Regions from separate parts of the Homo sapiens genome. Here all the other regions are linked to region 2. The links are contacts of gene promoters, found by promoter capture Hi-C in blood cells and fetal thymus (Javierre and others, 2016). All regions are on one chromosome and are shown on one strand. Each heading gives the region's core, a stretch centred on a gene start or on the middle of the fragment in contact. The rest is flanking DNA. Distances are from core to core; before and after follow the strand shown.

The links. Contacts are between HindIII fragments. The CHiCAGO score rates a contact against its expected background, and 5 or more counts as called.
Region 1: a contact is called between the fragment with the promoter of MAN1A2 here and the fragment with the promoter of ZNF697 in region 2, in 1 of 17 cell types (M2 macrophages). The highest score is 6.0, in M2 macrophages.
Region 3: a contact is called between a fragment that was not itself captured here and the fragment with the promoter of ZNF697 in region 2, in 1 of 17 cell types (M2 macrophages). The highest score is 5.3, in M2 macrophages.

What each region holds. Positions count from the first base shown.
Region 1 is chr1:117,366,197-117,369,341 of GRCh38, forward strand. It overlaps MAN1A2 (mannosidase alpha class 1A member 2), which reads left to right and starts at 1,253. Exons shown (of 13, transcript NM_006699.5): 1 at 1,253-2,289. The coding sequence starts at 1,988. RefSeq lists a silencer at 489-1,308 and an enhancer at 2,179-2,318. The HindIII fragment of the contact is 7,016 bases long and covers 1-2,757 here.
Region 2 is chr1:119,646,631-119,649,516 of GRCh38, forward strand. ZNF697 (zinc finger protein 697) reads right to left here and starts at 1,636. Exons shown (of 3, transcript NM_001080470.2): 1 at 1,061-1,636. It overlaps LOC124904389 (a long non-coding RNA gene), which reads left to right and starts at 1,686. Exons shown (of 2, transcript XR_007066506.1): 1 at 1,686-1,757; 2 at 2,094-2,346. RefSeq lists silencers at 1,053-1,216, 1,514-1,573 and enhancers at 1,632-2,472, 1,644-1,713. The HindIII fragment of the contact is 7,030 bases long and covers 1-2,886 here.
Region 3 is chr1:117,605,938-117,609,077 of GRCh38, forward strand. It overlaps TENT5C (terminal nucleotidyltransferase 5C), which reads left to right and starts at 111. Exons shown (of 2, transcript NM_017709.4): 1 at 111-216. RefSeq lists a silencer at 1-176. The HindIII fragment of the contact is 487 bases long and covers 1,496-1,982 here.

The DNA.
Region 1 (3,145 bases), core at 3-2,502, 2.3 Mb before region 2:
TATGGGAAGGGGGTTGATGAGGTGTGTGAAGATGATAGAACGTGCCCCAGAAACTGAACAATGAAGAGACGCCTGTCATATCGGGGGTACCTAGATTCCTCTGAAAGGAAGCCCAGCTGAAGGAGCAGGGTCACCACTTTATTTTAAAAACGTAACATGGCACATGTTGGTGCTCTATTAATCGAGCCTCGGGGGCCCAATAACGTGAGCATGGGCTGCTGCGTGGAAGTTTGAGACCCTGTTGCTGAATCCTCGGGCCTGACGGTCTATCGCTGAAGACAAGACTTCCAAAGAATCACAGTAAACGTTAACCTAAGCCATCAGAAGCCATTAACTCCGGTGACACTACATTTCAGCGAAACCTTCGCGACCCAACCCCTCGCTCCCTCTCGCCCAAACGCTGGGTCAACCCCACGAACTGGCGGTGGCAAGGCCCTGGGCACCGGTGAAGTTCTCGTGGCAGCGCAGATCGGCGACCTTCTCTTCTTTCGCGCTCAGACGGCGGCGGCAGCAGTACGCTTTCGGGCTGCTGGAGCCGGCAGCGGCGCGAGGCCGGAGCCCGGGCAGCCAGGCTGGGTGGGGGAGGGGCGGCGGCAGCGGAGCCGGGAGCGTGCGCGCGCACCTCACACTCCGCCGCCCGGGGACGCCCACTCGCGAGCCGGGGCCGGTAGGCCGGCCCGGGTCCCATCGCCCCCGCCCTCCGGTTCCTCTCCGGCGTGAGCCCAACGGGTGTCGGCCCAGCAGCTGCTGCGCTCACCAGGCCTGGGGAGGCAGGGTACGGGGACCGGGCCGCAGCCCCGAGCGGCGTGGGCGCGCTGCCTCTCTGGCAGCCGCCGCCAGAGCCAGCAGCTGCGAGCCACCGGAGGCGGCGCGGAGGAGGCCCCCGCGGCCGGGCAGGAAGGAGACGCGGCCGACCTCTGCCCGCCCGAGGCGCGGCTGCTCCCGCGCGCCCAGGCCCTCCCGCCGCTCCAGGGCTGAGTGAGGAATGAGCCGGCGCCTACCCCGGGCTCTCGGAGCGTGGGCCCCGGCTCGGCTTCTTAGGCGCGAGGGCTCGGCCACTGCGGCCGGCGGCCTAGCTCGGGGAGCAGGCGCCGGGGTTCACTGAACCGGCCGCGGAGAGGAGGAGGAGGAGGAGGAAGAGGAGGAGGAGGAGGAGGAGGAGCTCGGCGGGGGCGGCCGCCGCGCCTCCCCTCCCCCAGGACACGCCGGGGCTTCTCAGTGGCCGCCGGAGGAGGAAGTTCCGCTCCCTGACAGACCCGTGCGGTAGCAACAGCGGCGGCGGCCGCGGCGGCTGGCCGGACTCAGGTGTTTCGGACGCTATTGCCCTTCGCGCCAGCCGTCGAGTGGGCAGCAGCGGGACTCAGCCGGGCGCCAGGTTCCTGCCAGGCAGCGCCGGGAAGCGCGGGCGGCCGAGAACTCCTTCCTGCTACTTCGCCCAGCGCCGCTGCTTCGGCTTCCCAGCGAAGTGGGAGACCTTCCTCCCTGTTTGCAGACGTCCGTGGGAGACCCTTATTTTTTCCACCGCTAAGGTTAAGAGATTCTGGAATAGAAGCGTCGAAGGAGATCAAGTGAACCTTCTACAACTCCTCGGATGTCGCCAGTCTCCCTTTCGGGGCGGAAGACTACGTTTGAGCATCTCACTGAGGTGCAGGAATGGAAGAACCCACCTTGCAGCTTTTCTGCAGTGTGGCTTGCCTGATCTACCCCTAGGAATGAAGAGGAGGCTTGTAATAATCCGATGAAGTACAGATGTTGAAGAGGATATCGCAGGACCTAAACTTGTGATCGTTTGGGGGAGGTCACACACGTTTCTGAGTGGGAATGGATGGGCGTGAATGACGTGCCCTCTTAAAAAGCACAACAGTCCTTTAAGAGGAGCAAAATTGAGTTTTCCCATTTTGGCCAAGATTTTGAAGACAGTTCAATGTATTCTACATTTGACATAAGATGAGAACTTTCTAAAGTATTCTCTCCAAGAGCGTAAACGATGACTACCCCAGCCCTGCTGCCCCTCTCTGGACGTAGGATACCACCTCTGAACCTGGGGCCGCCTTCCTTCCCACATCACAGGGCTACCTTGAGACTTTCTGAGAAGTTTATTCTTCTCCTTATTCTTAGTGCCTTCATCACTCTGTGTTTTGGGGCATTCTTTTTCCTTCCAGACTCTTCAAAACACAAACGCTTTGATTTGGGTTTAGAAGATGTGTTAATTCCACATGTAGATGCCGGTAAAGGGGCTAAAAACCCCGGAGTCTTCCTGATCCATGGACCCGATGAACATAGACACAGGTTTGTTTATTTCAGAAGTTCTGGTACTAACATTTGGCAGAGCAAGGTACGGTGATTGGATCGAATCTGTCTTTTTTTTTTCTTGCAGTAAAATGTAATTTTTCGAGTCATAAATATTGTATTGTTACTTCAAGACTGGCTGAATAAAACCATAGACTGGAGGGACTCTACCTCCAGTCTATGGTAGAGTCCATAGACTGGTAGGACTGGAGTCCTACCTAAGTCGTTCTTCTCTTCGGTTTTATATAAGAAAAACATTTGCGTTCAGAGTTGTGTCTAATGTGGACATCTGGGAAGGGAGGTATGAAAACTTAACCTAAAGAAATGGTGACATAAGCTGTGCCTGCATTTATTAATAACGTGTTGGAGTCAGTCATTGTGCCACCATGTGAAATCAAAGCATCGAACCTTGACAGCTCTTTTGGGTGTGCTCTCCCAGAGGGCTCTCGTTTTCTGGCTTGTAGTTGAAGCTTAGTAGTGAGTCAGCTTTTTAGGATGACAAACGTGGGCAGAATATACCTGTCATTTCTTAACGTGAAAATATCCTGATTTTTGTTCTTTTTTTGGGGATGTGTGTTGGTGCTGTATATGAAATCAGTTAAGTTAAAAGGTATTGAATCCTAAGTTATTGCACTTTGTGAGGCTTGTAGACAAGATTTATTTTTGTGAAACTTAATTTTGCTCTCTCTTTTAATGTAATAGATGGACTGTGTCAAGCAACTATTGGAATTTGGTTGATTAAGGGGTTCACATTCTTTCAGATCACTAAATCTAAAGTGAGCTCTGGGGAGAGCATAGCCAAACTAGGATAAAATGGGAGCTCTAGTTACAATTTTTATAATTTTTATATTTGTAC
Region 2 (2,886 bases), core at 386-2,885:
ATATAAGTGGCATTCTTAAAGGTTCATTTGGTTCCTCAAACGTATTCCACATTAAATAATATCCACATGTTGGCTTGTTGAGAGAAGAAGGTAAACAGTTGGGGGCATCAACAAAAAATCAGGTGAGGGGAGAAAGGAGAGATAGTGAGTGTGGCCCCTTAGGCATGCTGAGTTCAGTTACAACAGTCACACTTGGACTGTATTCAAAGTTGCCCACTCATCCACCACAGCTACTCAAAGACATTTAACTCGCTAGCCATTATCCAACCGCATTTACCAGACGCTCAGTCTTGAGGGAGGAGGGTAACGCAGTAGGGGATGCGGAGTATTGGTGTCATCCTACAGGTTAAGGACAAACATGCCCACTACAAGGACAGGGATACATCACCAACTTCAATTCAGCCCAGGGTTCATGTAGTAAGGGGTGGGTGATTCACTCCTGTGGGGGAGGCAGGGCGGGGGCGGTTGGGGGAGGCGGTTAGGAAAAAGGAAAATCGTGGAAAGTCCCAGAGGAAGTGGTAGTCAGTTCCCGATGCATGGCCATAATGTACATTGGCCATAAGGTACACTCAGCGCCTCTGTGTCGCTGCTCCCCCTCAACCTTTTACTCACCCACTCCTCCCAACACGCGCCTCACCCGTGCCTCCATGCACAATCCTGAGCCTCGGCATCCCCGCGAGGTGCAGGTTCCAGCTTTGCCCACCACCCCACCACCTACCTACATGGACACGTGTGGTTGGAATGCCTCCCGGGGCTAGACGGCCACCCCTCTTGGGCTGCGAGCTGCTGCCCATCTCTCCACCCACCCGTCCTTATTGTGTCATTTGCCCGGTCTGATGGCAGCCCCAAAGCCGCTCATTTGAGTGGGCTAGAATGGAGAAGAGAGGAAAAGGGAGGCACACATTTCATTCACTAGGACCCAAGATGACCTGCCGCCTCTCTCCTGCCCTTCTCGGAGCCCCCCACCCTCCCTTAGCCCCAGTGGGGCTGGAGGCACGAACAGACAAGGCAAGGGGAGCGCAGTCCGTCAAGGTCCACAGCTGCACACAAAGCCCTTCACCTTCTCCTTGCCTTCCAAGCTCCTCCCTGGGCTTGGTTTCTCCGAGGGTCTCTGATGCCCCCTTCGGTGGTCGGCGGGACGGTCCTATTCCCTCTTGCATCGCTGTCTCCTCCCTCAAGTCTCAGCCTCCTCCTCCCCGCCCCTCGCCACATACCCCTGAGGGAGCTCAGTCCTGGCTTTGGGGGCGCGAGAGCACCCCATAAGCCCGGGGCCCTGCGCCCCAGGGGAGCGGACAACGGTCCACTTTACGAGGCACAACTTCGCCCAGCCGTTCCGCCACCGCACTCGAACACACACCCCATCCCCGCAGCGGTCGGGTCTGGTCCCGATCAGCCCCATCCCCGGGAGGCGGTTGAGCCCAGCCACAGCCACGCTCCTACCTGCGAGGCGGCTGGCGCGGCGAGGAGCTAGGGCACCGAGCGCCCCGGCCCGAGCCCCGCACCGCAGCGCGTCTGCCCTTGTGCGGCGGCGGCGGCTGCAGCGGCCGCTGGGTGGCCCGCTGGCTGGCTGGTTGGCTGGCTGGCTGGCTGGCTGGCTGGCTGGCTCGCTGGCTGGCTGCCCGGCTGACTCCTCACTGGGGCTTCCTGTAGGGCTGGACAAAGGACATTTCCTGGGAGGAGCGGGAGAATGTTCCCAGCATGCCTCGATTTGTAGTTCCCGGGGACTTCCTGCCACCGCAGCAGCGGGCGCCCTGGAGGTAGCTCGGGCCAGGCTAGGACTCCGGGACAGGAGGAAAGGCGCTCGCTGCTTCTCTAAGCGCTGTGGGGAAGGGAGCGGCCGGCGGGTCTTGCCCCACGCCCCGCCCCGCGGCGCTCAAGGAGCCCGCTGTCCCGGAGCACGCGAGATCCCAGCGCTGCACTCCGAGCTCGCGGCACCGGTTGCGGGCAGCCGGTGGGACGCTGCCGCTGAGCTGTCCCATGGTTCGGGAGGGCTCTGCGGTGGGAGAGGCCTTTTCTTTAAAAACTGGGAAGTTTGTGGTGGGTTCGCTTTTTAAAAATTAATCTAAAAACACAAAATCTATCTTTTAAAATAGATTTTCTTTTTGTCTTTTACGCCGTTGACATCCTGCTGGGGGCCGATTAAAGAACTTGATTGCTCACCAGGAATTCAGGTTCCTTAAGATCTTGGCGCTTCATCTTTAAAACCATACAGAGCTGATTGTTTCCAGATCCCGACCCGGTGACATTCCTCCCTCATTGTTGACCTTGTCCCAAACATCTTTTCAAGAAAAGCAATTAAATTGAGATTGAAAATAAATTACGTAAATTAAATATTAGACGTGAAAACCTGTGTGCTGCTGAATTAGGAAAGTGCTGGACTTTCTGCGTATCTTTCCTTCATTAACCTTTAGGATTCAGCTTCTTGGTCCCATAAAACAGATGTGCTGGCCACTGTATATTGAGTGTGTGTATTTCGGGAGTGGAAGGGTGAGGAGAAGAGGACATTGGCTACAAGAGAGGAACTCTACTTCCAGCCTAGCAAGAGTCTATGATGCCCTGCACATGTTTTTGTCTATTTCTGGGACCACAGACTCAGGACCCTTAGAAAATCAAGGAAGGACCACATAGAGACTAAATGACTAAAAGCTATATTCTCTCCTGGAGCATGAGCAGAAAGTAATAAACTGAACTAGGAAAGGACAAGTTCTAGGATGCTCTAGAATGTGTTTGAAAAGTAATCAGATAGAAAAGTCTCTGGGAGGCCGGGCGCGGTGGCTCACGCCTGTAATCCCAGCACTTTGGGAGGCCGAGGCGGGCGTACTACGAGGTCAGGAGATGGAGACCATCCTGGCTAATACGGTGAAACCCCGTCTCTACTAAAAAAAA
Region 3 (3,140 bases), core at 489-2,988, 2.0 Mb before region 2:
GGGGACTGGCTCCGCCACGCCCCGCCCCTGGCTCCCCCGGGAGGGCGGCTCAGGGGCGGGGACGGGGGCGTGGTCCCGCCGTATAAGAACGGAGGGGGCGGCGGCGGGACGGCTCACTCGGTGCCGCTGCCTAGGGGCTGTAGAGGTCGCGCCGCTCCTGCTGGGGCCTGCCCACGCCAAGGACCTGCCTCTGTCGCCTCCTCTTCTATTGCCCAGGTGAGTCCGCGACCCCCCTCCTCTAAAGGTGCGGCGATGCGGCAGCAGCCCCAGGGAGCCGCGAGCTCACTTAGTGGGGGTCCGCCCCCACTAAGTGGTGCTCAGGTCTTTGCCCAGCCTGGTAGGGGGCAGGCGGACCCGAGGGGAGCTGCGGACAGGTGCCGAGACCCGGTGCTCCTTTCCCCTCCTGCTCCCTCGAGGACCCCCGCCCCTGACACACCCGTCCCAAAGGGCCAGAAGAGACGCTCCGAAAGGGAGCTACAACTTTCCAGAGACCTGGGGCTTGGCAAACTCCAGCGAGTTCCTGCTCCGCGCGTCCTGCAGGCTGCGCGCTGGCCAGGCGCGGGCAGGGCGTCTGAAGAGTGTGTGATCGGCGCCTCCGCTCCTACCTGGATCAGACGGCGCCCCCCGCCACCCATGCCTCCCTTCCTGGCTTGCAGTCCCTCGGGCTCGCCCCGGCGCTCCCGCGGGCGCGCACACCTTCGCCGGCCCGCCGAGTGTGAATTCGAATTCGGCGGTTTCACTAGGCGCAGCTGGAGACGCAGCGGTCCGGGGCTTGGATCTGGTTGGGGAGGGGAGGGGCGCTTCCTAGGCTCATTGCCAAGTCCTGAGTTTTAAGGAGAAGGGCGGAGATCCTTAAATTTAATGCGCTCACATCAGACTGTGGACACCATGAGCAGCAAAGGGATCCAAGCCAGTGACTTGTGCGCTGCGCGTCTCTCAGAAACTTCTTGGGAATGCGGTGTCTGTGAAACCTGCTTCCTCTCCTTTTGAAAATGAAACTTGCTTTACTGCGTAGGTGAAAAGCCACGGCAAGTGGGTCGACTCGGACGGATACCGGTGCGGCTGCCCCGGGAGGTGTCGCAGTTCGGGGACTCCCTTCGCACTGGTCGCGAGGCAGGAGGGAGCAGGGTGGGAGGCGAGTCAGAGGAGGGTGACTTACCTGAAGAATACAGGTTGGTAGCCTGCACACCTGAACTCAACGCTGGCGGGCGAGAAAACCAAGCAGCGCTACCTCCAAGTAAGGGCGCTCCCCTGGAGAAATGAATGCCTGGCGAGCTTCTGGAGAACCCACTATTAGGGCTGGACCCTGCGGGAGGGATAGTGTCAGCTCCCTTCCCCTTCGCCCTTTTTTGTCCATAGGTAGGCTTTTGTAGGGCTCTAACCAGTTCCCTGGCTTAATTAAGTAGGGGCCTGCTTCCTTTTTAACATTTTTGCTTTCTTACGGAGATATAAAGTGCATACAAATGAAGTGCTTAAAATGCACTTATAGTAAGAAAGCTTTTATAAATACTATGTGCATAATTATTTGTATTGTGACAACTTGGTCTTCAGGTTACTTTGTAGGTGGGTTAGGAGACTGAACCAGCCCAGGAAATAAAGTTAGGGTGATTAGATCCTCCCAAAGTACACTTCTGGCTGGCTCAGCTGCCCTCTGCGTGCAGGAAAGAGGGTGACCGTTGTTGGCGACAGCAACCTTTCAACGTGAGTAAATTGGCAAGGAAATGAGCCCAGGAAGTAAGTTGGGCAGCCGCAAGAGTGGTAGGAGAGCTTACCCAGAATTTTACTGTCTTAAATCCCCAAGGGTATTATTGAGGGTGTGAGACCAGCCACGTTAGGCCCTGCAGTGGAAAAGGGGGAGGGGGATGGGGAGTAAAGAATGCTGACTTTTCTCTGGGCTTTTAGGGAAACCTCTGAGCTGGGCTGCAGGGGTTCTGTCCTTTGACATTCTTGTTTGTGAAGATGGAAAATGATCTCTGGAGTCAAGCTTAGTTTATTTCAGATAATGAACTTTTTCTCTTAAGGTATACCCATAGCTTTAGAGTACATATATTCTCAATAAAGAGTTTTTAGGAAGATTTTGGTATATTGTATATAATTGTTCAGGTAGCTATGCGGGGGTAGGGGGCTCCCATAACAAAGTTTAAAAAAAAAAAAAAACTCTGCCAGGAGGCCTCTAAATTGTTACCAAAACAAAGATCCCTAATTTCATAAGCAGCTTCAGTGAGCACATAGAATTAACAGCCATATTTCTTACGCTGTTTTTTCCACAATACCTACCTTGTATCCAGGGATTAAATTCATGTAATTCTGAAGGAAAGGATTTGGCTCTTAGCCTGCTTGTCAGAGTGAGCATGACTTAGTTGTGCACCTGTGGCTATCTCTACCTGGTTTCTTCTCTTGTACCGTGAGCACAAGTAGCCACTGAAATCTCCCGAGTTCCAGAGGCCCGTCCCCCCTCAGCTGTATCTCCCCATAGTGCACACATTCAGCCCACATTCCCCCGTGTTCAAGGCCAGGGCAGATCATGCACATCTTGCGCTGCCGGTCAGAGAACAGAATTCCTCATATTTCTGAAAGTCCAAGGAACAGTGCAGCAGTAAAAATAACTTAAAAGTGGGCTGTAGTGCTCTTGTTTTCACAGTACCATTAACCAGACACATTTGATAGAAAATTTAAAAACTTCATTTAAAAAACTTTTTTTGTTGTTTTTACTGCTCAAGTACATAGGACCTTGTCTTCATCTTTTGTCTCTGATCAATGTTGTGTTCATGGAGTTACCTACTAAAGAAATGGAAACCCAAAGGCTCTCAGTGGATGAGTTGAACCTTTTTTTTTTTTTTTTGCATTACTGAGAGAAGTCGTGGAAGCCCAAAACTAGTTTCATGAGTTAAGCTAAACTTATGTTTTGGGGTTTCTTGGTTTCACACCTGTCTCTGGGTGTATCTGCTATTTTGTGTGCATGTGTGTGTGTTTAGGAGTTAAGGAGTAATGTGGAATGTGAGGTTACTTGGAATAAAACATTACTTGGGTTAGATAAGGTCTGTTGCTTTTTGTGTTGTCATTGAGGTAAACAAGGCACTGTAGGAAAATGCTTCCTGCCATCTTGGTGTTTTGACTATAGTACATTAAAATGGCATAAA